Linked DNA regions of Homo sapiens: all the other regions are linked to region 4. The links are contacts of gene promoters, found by promoter capture Hi-C in blood cells and fetal thymus (Javierre and others, 2016). All regions are on one chromosome and are shown on one strand. Each heading gives the region's core, a stretch centred on a gene start or on the middle of the fragment in contact. The rest is flanking DNA. Distances are from core to core; before and after follow the strand shown.

The links. The method cuts DNA at HindIII sites, captures the fragments that hold promoters and counts their contacts. A CHiCAGO score of 5 or more calls a contact.
Region 1: the fragment with the promoter of YWHAQ here is called in contact with the fragment with the promoter of ASAP2 in region 4 in 3 of 17 cell types (fetal thymus, naive B cells and erythroblasts); the score reaches 7.1 in fetal thymus.
Region 2: a contact is called between a fragment that was not itself captured here and the fragment with the promoter of ASAP2 in region 4, in 1 of 17 cell types (M2 macrophages). The highest score is 5.8, in M2 macrophages.
Region 3: a fragment that was not itself captured here is called in contact with the fragment with the promoter of ASAP2 in region 4 in 4 of 17 cell types (M2 macrophages, endothelial precursors, M0 macrophages and 1 more); the score reaches 8.2 in M2 macrophages.

Annotation. Positions count from the first base shown.
Region 1 is chr2:9,629,520-9,632,464 of GRCh38, reverse strand. YWHAQ (tyrosine 3-monooxygenase/tryptophan 5-monooxygenase activation protein theta) reads left to right here and starts at 1,468. Exons shown (of 6, transcript NM_006826.4): 1 at 1,468-1,524; 2 at 1,931-2,306. The coding sequence starts at 2,013. RefSeq lists silencers at 1,147-1,316, 1,367-1,466, 1,667-2,016 and enhancers at 2,137-2,236, 1,980-2,882. The HindIII fragment of the contact is 4,477 bases long and covers 1-2,667 here.
Region 2 is chr2:8,859,216-8,862,357 of GRCh38, reverse strand. MBOAT2 (membrane bound glycerophospholipid O-acyltransferase 2) reads left to right here. Exons shown (of 13, transcript NM_138799.4): 12 at 1,594-1,745. Among named protein-coding and RNA genes, the nearest start is that of KIDINS220, 23 kb to the right of the region's middle. The HindIII fragment of the contact is 6,341 bases long and covers 1-3,142 here.
Region 3 is chr2:8,877,123-8,879,973 of GRCh38, reverse strand. MBOAT2 (membrane bound glycerophospholipid O-acyltransferase 2) reads left to right here. Exons shown (of 13, transcript NM_138799.4): 7 at 2,761-2,851. Among named protein-coding and RNA genes, the nearest start is that of KIDINS220, 41 kb to the right of the region's middle. The HindIII fragment of the contact is 2,239 bases long and covers 420-2,658 here.
Region 4 is chr2:9,205,441-9,208,714 of GRCh38, reverse strand. ASAP2 (ArfGAP with SH3 domain, ankyrin repeat and PH domain 2) reads right to left here and starts at 1,903. Exons shown (of 28, transcript NM_003887.3): 1 at 1,485-1,903. The coding sequence starts at 1,610. RefSeq lists enhancers at 891-1,821, 1,822-2,754 and silencers at 2,184-2,367, 2,114-2,373. The HindIII fragment of the contact is 2,916 bases long and covers 699-3,274 here.

The DNA of each region.
Region 1 (2,945 bases), core at 219-2,718, 420 kb before region 4:
AGGCCGCTCCTGTCTGTCAAAGCACAAAGCAACCTTCACAAGTCAGGACAGGGAGGGGCAGTCAAGAGGGAGTCTGAATTTCTGGAAAGTCGGCACCTTCTCCTCCCATCTGTCTGCACTCTCAAATCTCCCATTCTAGAGATTCTCCGGATTTGCTCCAGTCTCCACTCAGAATGGGAAATTCTTTATGATCCATTCTCCTTAGACCTGCTGGAATCGGGATCATAGCAGCGTGAACCCAGAGGGCAATTCTCATCTTAAGATGGCACAGGGACCACGCGCCAGACGGGCAGGGCAGCCACCCTACCTGGATGGAGTTAGGGAACTGGGGAAGTGCAAGGAGAGACAGGAGTGGTTTAAGAGGAAAGGGAGCTGCCAGGGATGACCCTGAATGGGAGGGGCCTGGGGGAATCTTTCTCGCTTCAGCAGGGTGTTCCCCAGGAGGAGAAAATCAGAAATCAACATCCAGGGAGAGGATTTCAGCTTTTCAAGTGACCTCTCACAAATAATACCAGAAACAAAAGCGTGTGCACATGTGACAACGATGTGAAAAATGATGTATTTAGGTGCATAACCTGGAAAGCCTAAAAGATACATAAAAATTGCTTTTTTTTTGCGGGGAGAGATGTTATGGGCAGGGTTTTTTTTTGCGGGGGTGGGAAGGGGTAGTAATAGGTGTTTTCCTGCAAATTGTGCTTAATGTCATTTCTCATTTTAAAGAAAACCACAATACTTGGCATTGTCACAGAAACTCCCCTGGATCTTCTGGGACCTACCTTTTCACAAGGGAATTTTTTGTTTTAGGATGCCCATCTGAAAACTTGAATTTATCATGTAAATGCCATACTGAAGACACCGTCTCCAGAATCAATTCTTCTTTAATGGGGATGCGGTTTGCTTAATTCGGAGCCCTAATGGCAACGTCATTAAGGTCTGGGTTTAGTGTCTTGGGATCCAAACCTTTGTCACGGATAGAAAGGTGGAGGAAAGAAAGGCCCCCGTGCTCTAAAACAGCTGAATATGTCACCCTCCGAAGTCCAGCCTCGGCCAGAGCCCGTGAGATGCAATGCACCATCCGCAGCGGGAGACGCAGCCGCCGCCTAGGAGGTCGTGCGCGCCTCTGGGTCTCGTGCCGCACCCAGAAGTGCCGGGGTGGCGGGGAGGCTGAGGGGAGTTGGTAACGGCATCGCCATGGCAACAGTGACGTCCTTTTACCCTGGATCTAATTGGAGGAAACCCCGTGGCCGAAGCCGCAGCCTGCCGGCCAACCGAACTTCCCCGTACCGACCCACCCTCCTAGCCTCCGCGTTCCCTCCCGCTCCGCCCCCCTCGCCCCCTTCCGCGCGCTCGGTCCTCATTGGCCAGCGGCGCGCTGGGGGCGGGACTCTCGGGAGAAGCTCGGCGCATCATTGGGCGGTGGACCGCCCCTCGGCCCCGGGGTAGGCTGACACGGGAGGGTCCTCAGCTAAAGCCAAAAGCAGATCAAAGTGGTGGGACTCGCGTCGCGGCCGCGGAGACGTGAAGGTGAGCGCCTGGGTCGGCCCGCGGGCTTCCTCCGGCCGCGCTCGGATTGAGGGCCGGGCGGAGGTGCCGCCCTTGAGAGCAGCCGGTTGTCGATGCCGCTCCCCTCAGGGACGGCTCCGGGCGGGAAGGTGCGGGGCCAACGGTCGCTTCCATCTTGGGCCGGCCGGGCGGGGGTGGCGGGAGCGGCCGCGGCTCGGGCTCCCTGCGCGCGGGGCCTCCGCGCCGCCCCCGCCTCCTCCAGCCGCGGGCCGCGGCCTCCCCGGGTGCCCAGCGGGGGAGGGGGCGGGGGAGAGGGAAATTCAAGCGGCCGCGTGTGCGGGAGACAAAAGCGGGCGGCGGGCCGCATTGTCTGACGGCGCTCCCTCTCTGCTTTTTGTTCTCGCCTCGCCGCCCCGCCCCTCCGCAGCTCTCGAGGCTCCTCCCGCTGCGGGTCGGCGCTCGCCCTCGCTCTCCTCGCCCTCCGCCCCGGCCCCGGCCCCGCGCCCGCCATGGAGAAGACTGAGCTGATCCAGAAGGCCAAGCTGGCCGAGCAGGCCGAGCGCTACGACGACATGGCCACCTGCATGAAGGCAGTGACCGAGCAGGGCGCCGAGCTGTCCAACGAGGAGCGCAACCTGCTCTCCGTGGCCTACAAGAACGTGGTCGGGGGCCGCAGGTCCGCCTGGAGGGTCATCTCTAGCATCGAGCAGAAGACCGACACCTCCGACAAGAAGTTGCAGCTGATTAAGGACTATCGGGAGAAAGTGGAGTCCGAGCTGAGATCCATCTGCACCACGGTGCTGGTGAGTCCTCGGCGCGGGGAGCAGGGGAGGCCTTTTGTGAGATGCTTTTCATTGAGAGTTTCGCGGGCACGGAAACAAACGTGAGCCGGGGCTTGCCGGACTGTCTGCTGGGGTGGAGGGTTTTAGGTGAGCCCTGACTTCCCTACTGTGTCCCTCCGGTTGTTGAGACTCAAGAAGCCGCTTTTCCAAGGATAAGTCCTTTTTTTTCGCCCCAGATGCTGGGTAGCTACCAAACGATGGAACTTGGAAACATCCAAGTAGGTCTCTGCGAGACTGAAAGGCGTTTTTAAGTTTCTTGTGCGGGGAGACTGCGTCCTGAGATCTGTGAGCCCTTTAAATGTATTCAGTCGGTTCACAAGCTTCAGGCAGTTGAAAGAAGGCGCAGGCACCTTTTTGTTACAGACAATGTAGTAGGGATTTTTTCCCAAACCCAGTAATGGAAATTTACTTAGAAAATCTGAACAGATACTTTATTTTTCAAGTAAGAGTATCTGTTGTGCTCCCCCCCACCCCCCATAAACAGGAGAGGAGGGGAGTTCGGGAAATGTGAAAAGGACACAGCTGTATCTGAAGAACACAATGTCCTGGTAAATTTCAACATTTAATAACATTTCCTTGCTGTTGCACACCTGTGCTTAA
Region 2 (3,142 bases), core at 1-2,500, 350 kb after region 4:
GGAGGCACTCACAAAATGTTACTTTGTCTTTACAGAATTTTCTGAAGGAGAGATAAAAACTGAGTTAAATAAAGATGATCAGAATGGGTAGGTTTATTTTAGAAATGTTTCCTGAAAGCTGTAACCTTTGAGTCCTCTCTCAGATGAAGACTAGGCTGTGCGAGGCCAAGACAGTGGATGAGCCACACTGGAAGAGGACACAGTTCTTTAGAGTATTTGCCTAGACAGAACATAGAGTAATATTTTGGGGAAACAATTGAGAAATTAGGTTGGTGACATGAAAGAAATAAGGAGAAGGATAATTTAGGGTAAGCCCTTGAAAACCAGTTAGAGGAAAGTGACGTGACAAAAACCATGTTTGAACAAGCTGGTAATGGCACTTACAGGTAAGAGGGCTTCATTTAACAAACTAGCAGATATTTACTGTATTCCATTTTGAGGAACTTTGGGGATATATGAGGGAAATTTCAAGAAGTATTAACTAAGGGTAGCTTCCAGTAGTTTGTAGTCTAATTTGGGATAAGGTGTATATGTGTGTACATACCTTATGCATGTGTGTGTGTGCATAAGACAGATTCTGTGGGTGTTATAAATACTAAGTAGCATAGGTGTTTAGAGATGGAAGAAGTCTCTTTGGGTTGGGTTAATTAGAGATGGCCCCATTAGGAAGGTGTTTGGATCTGGACTTTGAGAGATGAAAGTTATTTCAATAGTGAGTGAAGTATAATGGGGAAGAAAATGACATTCTAAGCATCGGAAGGACATTAGCAAAACCCATAATTCTTAGTGGCTAGGCTCTGCTATCTCTTGCCTAGCTCACCACCATGGCAGTCACCTGCTCTTGATTCCATCCTGTTCACCAATGACAAATCCATTTGTCCTGAGGTACGGGCTTTTGGCATTCCATTCTTGCGCTTAAAAACTGTACCTAACTCCCTCCCATAGCAGACAGAATAGGATAGGCTTCTTCCCTACCTGGTGTTCAAGTTCTACCACTGCCCTCCTCCCTTCCCCCATTTACCTCTCTAGAATTACCAGGTATCTATGCATACATGAATTCTCTGCTTCCATTAGATTTACTTGTCATTCCCCAAATACACCATGCACTTGCATATTAGCAAAGCCAAGTTTGTCTTTCACAAATGCAGAGGTTAAATAAGAGTTAAGGATGAAGGTAAACCAAACTTTATTTATATACTATATTTTACCAAATATGATTTAAGGATCTCTAGGCAGTGTTGTCTTAAACTTTTCTTTTTTTTTTGGAAACTTTTATTTTAATACAGAATCTAATCTACAGAAAAGTTGCAAAGAACTTCTATATGCCCTTTACCCAGACTCACCAGTCATTTATGTTTTCCCTGTTACTTCCTCATCTCCCCTCTCTCTGTCTTTTATACACAGTGTGTACAATGTGTATTCGCTTTTTTAGAACGAACTTTATCCATAGTAGCAGTGTACATTCCCACTAGCAACTTAGGAGAGTTTCAGTTACTCTACTCCACATCCTTCCAACAGTTGATATCACCAGTGTAACTGCATAAGTAATGTTAATTTAAAGATACAGCAAATGTTTTTGTTTCTTTATTTCAGATGAGAAATAACTTTAGACATTATTTCATTGAACCTTCCCAACTGAAATTATTTTATGATGTTATAACATGGATAGTAACTCAAGTAGCAATAAGTTACACAGTTGTGCCATTTGTGCTTCTTTCTATAAAACCATCACTCACGTTTTACAGGTAAGTGTTACTCTTAAAACTTTGTCAGTGGGAATAACTCTATTTTCAAAAGAAAGTTTCTTGCTATTGGATAGAATAGAAAAACAGTACCATAGCCACATTTCCTGCTGATAAATGCATTATCAGTTACTTTTTAATTCTGAACCAAGCAAGTCTCAGCGTTTCTCTGTGGAATGACTCATACTGCTCAACCCTCAGATGAGTGATTTAGACAGAGAAATATCAGCCAGGTAACCACTGCCTCAAACCTCTCCTAAATTTAACAAAAAACTTGTTAGCTTAATTGTCCTGAACTTCTTTGGGGAAAAAACCAGCTAACCTCTCCTAAATTTAACAAAAAACTTGTTAGCTTAATTGTCCTGAACTTCTTTGGGGAAAAAACCAGCTATTTACAAAGAATTATTAATTATCTTTTTTTTTTTGAGACGGAATCTTGCTCTGTCGCCCAGGCTGGAGTGCAGTGGTGCAATCTCGCTCGGCTCACTGCAACCTCTGCCTCCCAGGTTCAAGCAATTCTCTGCCTCAGCCTCCCAAGTAGTTGGGATTACAGGCACCCACCACTACACCCGGCTAATTTTTGTTTTTTTTTTTAGTAGAGATGGGGTTTCACCATCTTGGCCAGGCTGGTCTTGAGGCTCCTGACCTCGTGATCCACCCGCCTTGGCCTCCCAAAGTGCTGGGATTACAGGCATGAGCCACCACACCCAGCCTAAGGAAAATAAATTATATTTTATTTGTTCCTTTTCACTGTGTCTTTTATGTTTGATTGATACTGTGGTGATCTGTATATTATAGAAATTGTCTTGTCTCGAATTCTGTATTTTTATAATCTACTTATCTCCTCTCCCTGCCCACCAAATTCCACTTCCCCATATTAGATGGTGATATTTTAGAGATCAAAAACTTTATTCTTTTATAAATTCTTTATTACTCTAGCATTTAGAATGACTTAGCACAGAGTCGTAAAAAAATTATTGAATCAAATATGACAATAATTATACAGGAAGACATTAAATAAGTCCTGCTACAGTTTCCATTTTAACAAAATTAGTACATGTTTAAAAATGTGATTGGGCTGTGGGTTAGATTTTCTATCCCAGGAACTTTGTTCAGAATCACTTGAACTTACAGTTATAGATACAGTTTAGGTTACATTTGGTTTATATAATTTGAGAAATGATGTTTTCAATATTTTTAATAATGTGGCCTTTCTTTGCTTCATGAAAGTAACCATCAAGAAGCAATATTGCTTCTCTGTCACTCCCCTCCGTTAGAATATTTGTAACTTAGAGACAGTAAATAGCAGGTGAGGCCAGACTGGTAAAAGTCTTAACTATCTCCACATTTTCTTTGTTGACTCAACTTTTGATTATCTGGATTGGGGAGATTTTCAGATT
Region 3 (2,851 bases), core at 290-2,789, 330 kb after region 4:
AATTCATTCTTAACTGTGCAGCTCACTCTATCAAAAATACCCCTCCCTTCCTGCCATCACTTTCCGTCCCTTTGCTCCGCTTTGTTTTCCTCATAGTAGGTATTACTGTCTGATGTTATACAAGACATTTGTTTTAATTGTCCCTCTCCCTGCCCCTGTCACTGAGGACAGGAACTTTGTCTCATTTATTGTCCCCATCATCCAAACCGTGGTCATTATTTGGAGTGATTTCGCCTCCAAGAGTCAGCTGACAATGTCTAGACACTTTTGGTTGTTACTGCTGAGGCGGGTGGTGCTACTGGCGTCCGGTGGGTAGCGCCTAGGGGTGCTGCTAAACACCCTGCACTGCACAGGGGACCCCACCACAGAGAATCATGGGCCCAAAGTGTCAATAATTCTGTACACGAGAAGCCCAAGCTTGAGACAACACATAGTTGATATGAAATAGCAATGGAATGAATGAATGAGTCTTTTGTTTGATATTATACATTACAATTAGACTTAAGTTCTCATTTTATAAATAAATACAGTTACTTACTTCGGTACCTAAAATGACTTGTTGTTTGATATGACAGTTGAGCCAAAAATTACTTAAGCCAGTTTCATGGTTTAGAACTATCTCCTGTCCTTGCTAACGGTGATACATAGTTTGACTTGGTGTTAAAATAATTGGTATTGAGAATGGAGCTCTGCTGCTAGAGTACAAGGAGTTCTTTTGTAACCTTGTGACTGCAGGGTACTTACCCTGGTCTTTGATACAGTGAGAAAGCATGCTGTTTCATCATTAAATAGAAAGAACTGAAAGAGAAAATCTGCCAGAAACATTTTCTGTCATCAGTTTCAAGCCCTAAAAAGAAAATACTTAAGGTTCAAGACATTTTTTTTTTTTTTTTTTTTTGAGACGGAGTCTCGCTCTGTCGCCCAGGCTGGAGTGCAGTGGCGGGATCTCGGCTCACTGCAAGCTCCGCCTCCCGGGTTCACGCCATTCTCCTGCCTCAGCCTCCCAAGTAGCTGGGACTACAGGCGCCCGCCACTACGCCCGGCTAATTTTTTGTATTTTTAGTAGAGACGGGGTTTCACCGTTTTAGCTGGGATGGTCTCGATCTCCTGACCTCGTGATCCGCCCGCCTCGGCCTCCCAAAGTGCTGGGATTACAGGCGTGAGCCACCGCGCCCGGCCAAGGTTCAAGACATTTTTAAAAGTGGAAAAATAATTCTGGAAAAGTTAGAAAAGTAGTTTGGGCTGAGTGGTAACCCAGATAGTATCAGATGGACAGGAATCACTATTTTGTTCTATTTAATTTATCAAAGAAAAATAATATATGCTAAGCTAGGCAAGGTGGTGTGTGCTTGTCATCCCAGCTACTCAGGAGGCCAAGGCAGAAGGATTGCTTGAGCTCAGGAGTTTGAGTCCAGCCTGGGCAACATAACAAGACCTAGCTCTTTAAAAAACTGTTTATGAGGGTATTCTCTCAACCTCTCTTGTCCACAAGAGTGTTTGTATTTTTTAAGGAGAGAGCTTATCATATTCAGAGAGGAGCATGGACTGTAACATGTTCAAGAAGCCTGCCTGCTGTCCACAGGTGCAGTTGTGCTTTCTTTGTGATGGTTTATCATTAACAGTGGACAGTAGGCTTTCTTAATGCAGCTGTTTTTTTTAAATACACTCCTTATTCATTTATATGGTAACATAAATAGTCTAAATAGTCTCCTGTGTTAACTACCCATTTTCACTGTTACCCATAGGTACCATGTATCATTTGGACAGACCTCTAAGGAGTGGAATTGACTTGACTCCCTTTTCTCCTCCACCTCACAGCCAATCCCTCCGCAGCCTTCAGGCTCCACTGCCAGGATACGTGCAGAGCATCTGCCCCCTCCTCCAGCCATTGTCACCTCCTGCCTGGAGACCGCAGGAGCCCCACACATGGGCTGGAGTGACGCATTGAGACAGATCTTTTAAACCCCTGCTGTGTTTTTTCATTTCAGTCAGAATAAAATCTGAAGTTCCTGCCATGGCTTGTAAGGCAAGCCCCATCTGATCTCACCTCAGCTGTCTTCCCTGCTCCCACCTCTTCCCCCGGGTCCACTCTGCTCCAGCCCCACGGCTGCCTTGCTGCCAGCCGTGCCCAGCTCAGGGGTCTTCACGCATCATTCCCTCTGCCTGGAACCCCTGTCACCAACATCCACACAACTCCTCTCACTTCTTCCTGGTCTCTGCTCAACTGTCACCTTACCAGAGAGGCCTTCTCTGACTTCTTAATAGAATAAAAGAGTTCCTTCTTTTTGTAACACTTAGCACTTCTGAAAATATGTTTTATAAATTTTATTATTGTTTTCTGCAACCAGTATGCAAGCTCTGTGGATGCAGGATTGTCCTCTCCTTTGTTTACTGCCGTATCCAGGCCCTGCAGCAGGTGGGGCACACAGTGCACAGCACGTGTTTGTTAGAAGAGCAAATGATTGCCTAGGAGGAGACAGCACTTTGCAGATAGTGCGTCCATCTTTGATTTGTCTCATCGTGAGAAATCTAAGTTGAAACCTTCATATTTGCTCATAAGGATCTGTATAGAAACTCTTATTCAGACATACTTTTGAGCATGACTATGTTCTGATCCTTAAAATTCTTATTGTATGGGTACAAATGAAAATGAAAGCTTGTTTTACTTTGGAAATGGAGAGCAGTGAGGTGGATCGTTATTCTATCAGATGTTCTGAAGCTTATGCTGCATCTCACTGGTTGCATGTCTTTTCATTGCAGGCGCATGCCAAGCTTACTGGAGTATTTGAGTTACAACTGTAACTTCATGGGGATCCTGGCAGGCCCACTTTGCTCTTACAAAGACTACATT
Region 4 (3,274 bases), core at 654-3,153:
CATTTGAAGGCATCATCTGTAAGCCTTGCTGCTAAAAGTAGAATTAAGTGATCTGGGGAATCACCGAATTCATAGGAAAGGTTTACATGCAGCTCTCTTCCGCCAAATTAAATGGAGAGAAGGAAGGCTACCCAAGTTATATTAACAGGATTCAGAATGCTGAATGTTACTTTTGACTCCCTTTTATTGACTGTTTACAGCTACAAAGAAAAAATTTTTCCATTAAGGGAAAACATTCTGGATTTTTTTTCAAGCAATTCCTAATAGCAGATGCTTTGTTCAAATGGGAAAAAAAAAAAAAAACCAGAAAAAAAAAATAACGCCATTGCTTCATTTAAAGCTCTTTGGTGACACCCACCCCCCCACCCACACACACACTCCTGCTAGCCCAGGCGTCTTCTGCTAAAACACCTGCAATACCCAATTTTAAAACTGTAACCTGACATCCTGGCCCAGAGACATTTAATCACAGATTCACTATTGCCACACGTGTGACTTGTAAACCTATTCTGAGCCGAGCAGAGTGCTAAGCACTTCACACAGTCTCTGATCCTGGAAAGGATGCATTACTAATCCCGTTTGATGGGTAAGGAAAAGGAGGACTGCAGGTGAGGATGTGCCTCAAACCACAGCCAACGGTGGCCCCTGGACTCACAGACTCTGCCCCTTTCCCCACGGCTTTAATTTTCAACCAAGCTTCTTCGTTCCTACGTGTTCCTCTCCCCAGGACCTGGAGAGCGTACTGCTTAGCAGCTAGGCGTGATGACTTTGCACCTTGAGAGCACTTTACTAAAACCAGGCCTTTTCCAGGTTGAGGGGGAAGGGCGGCATTCCGGGTTCAAGCAGGTGAGACCCAGGTAACCGGGGAGCGGCTCCTGGAGGCTTCTTGGACCCAGAAGCGCCGACTCTCACACACCTTGCCCGCAGTTCCTTCTCCGGGCACGGGTGGAGCGCAGCCAGGCCGCCCTGGCTGAGGCGGGCACGCCTTCCCGGGCAGCCCGGGATGCCCCGGACCCGCGGACCCGAGGGTGGGGGCCCTGCGGCGCTCGGGGGCTGCGGCGGGGAGCTCGGAGCGCGGAGCTGCCCCCGCCGGTCCACTTCAAGAACAAGTTGATAAGGTCCGCACCGGGTACCAAAGACCCCGGGCGGCGGCGGGCGGCGGCGGGCAGCGGGATCCCCCGCTCGCCGCGGACCCCGACTCTGGACAAAGTTGGCCGCGCTGCGGGGAAAAGACCAGGCCGCGGAACCCCGCGAGGGCCACGAGGCCGAGAGAGGGGAGGTCTTAAAGAGGCCCAAGGTGGCCATCACCCATCTCCTCCGAGCCACCTAGGCGGGAACAAAGGGCTTCTGTCTCGGGCAGGGTTGGCCCGGCCGCGTCCGGCTTCGGAGCAAAGAAAGTTTTCTCGGGATGCGGATGCGGGAGCGGCGGGCGGGGCTGGGGCGCGGGATACCTGCGGCCGGAGCCGCCGCGCAGGCCGCCTCACCTCCTCGATGGCCGCCACAGTGTTCCGGCACTGCGCCGTGCGGGTGGTGAAGCTGGAGGCCGTGGGCGCCTTGTAGTCCTCATGGGTCTCGGCCACGAATTCCGACACGGAGATCTGGTCCGGCATCGCCTCGGCGCGAGGGCGCTGGCGCACAGCCGCAGGGGCGCCGCCGCCTCAACTGCCGCAGCAGGCTCCGACCGCCGCTCGGACACCGCCGCTGCCGCCGCCGCTCCGGCCCGCGGACAAAGGGGAGCGCCGGGCGCGGGAGCCGCGCGGGGCCTGGCGGCGGAGCAGGGGCGGCGCGCAGCCCCGCGCAGCTCGGCCGGTCCGCCCGCCTGCGCGCCGAGGGCTCCGAGTCCGCTGCCGCCGCGTCCTCTCAGAGCGAGCCCCGAGGCGGGCGCGCACAGCCGGCGGGAACTACCCGCCACCCAGCCGCGGGCCCCGACGCCTCCCGCGGAGAGGGGCGGGTCCGGGCCGGGGGCGGCGGCCGGCCGGGCGTGGGGCGGGGCGGCGGGAGGACCGGGCCGCCAATCGGCGCGCTCGCCGCTGCCGCGCCGCCGGGAAGCGGATCCCGCAGGAAGGAAGGCGGCGCGCGCCCCGGCCCGCCGAGCCGTTCCTGGCCGCCGCGCGCCGCATTGTCTCGGCGTTCCGGGCCCCGCGCGCCGCGCCCATGCCCCGCCCCCAGCCGGCCCGAGGCCCCGACTCCGACCCGCTGCCCGCGAGGGTGCGTGTGGAGGTGCGCCCCGCCGGAGTCCGGCCTTGTGCGCGCCAACCGCCCCCCGCCCACGGCGCGGAGCACCTCTGGGCTCCCCACTTGAACGGCGGGCCGCGCCGGCCCATGAGGAAAGCGGGGTGCGGAGCTCGCCCCCTGCCGGAGGATGCGCTCCGCCGGCGGGCACCCTGCGGGGACCACAGCCGGACGCCAGAAGTGACCTGACCGTGAATGTGCGCTTTGCGTGCAGTCATTGCATCGTCGCAGGCCTAGGAGACAGATGAAGAGATGGGTGCTTATTTTATATAGGGGACACAGTGTGCCCAAGAGCACAAGATAAACGGCCGGGTGGGGATTCAAACCCATGTTCCCTGACTCAAGTGTGAGTGCTTCAGAGCGGTGAGGGGCCCCTACTAAAAGTCCCAGTCGCGTTTCCTAGGCTGCCCAATGATAGGTATTCTCGGTTATAGTTTTAGGGTACTAGGCCAGGACCCACCCTGGGAAGGCTGCTGAACGCCCTGAAGTGGTATTCCCGCAGGCAGAGGAGGGAACCGAGGGGGTGCAGGAGGAGGAGGAGGGGGAGAACGTGCTACAGCAGCCAGCCAACCTCACACAAAACCGGGCCAGTAAAGGGTTCGAACTGGTACCGATTTTTATTTACAGCTCTTAAGGAAATTCTCGGTTATACTGAAAAATCCAGAAGCTCTGAAGATACCAGTCAAATAAAATCACACCCTATAACTCTACACCAGACTTGTGGCATGGTTTCTGTAGCTGCCAGCGGTAAAACCAAGAGAAACTTTACAAAAACCTTTTGTGCATCTGAAAAGGAGGAAGTGTGAGAGACACTGGAAATTCAATATGTCAGACAAAGCCGTCTCCTGACACTGCAGGACAGTAGACCAGTCAAACAATCTTTTTAAAGCCCCCATGTAAGAAGTTGCTATATGAGGTGGCAGCTTGGGTCAGACATTATGTATGGCCTTTGGTATTTTAGTAGCACTGCATGTAAAATTTAACTTTCTAAAATCGCTGTATTCGTGGATAGCTTTTATCATTGCACTAGACAACAAGTTAC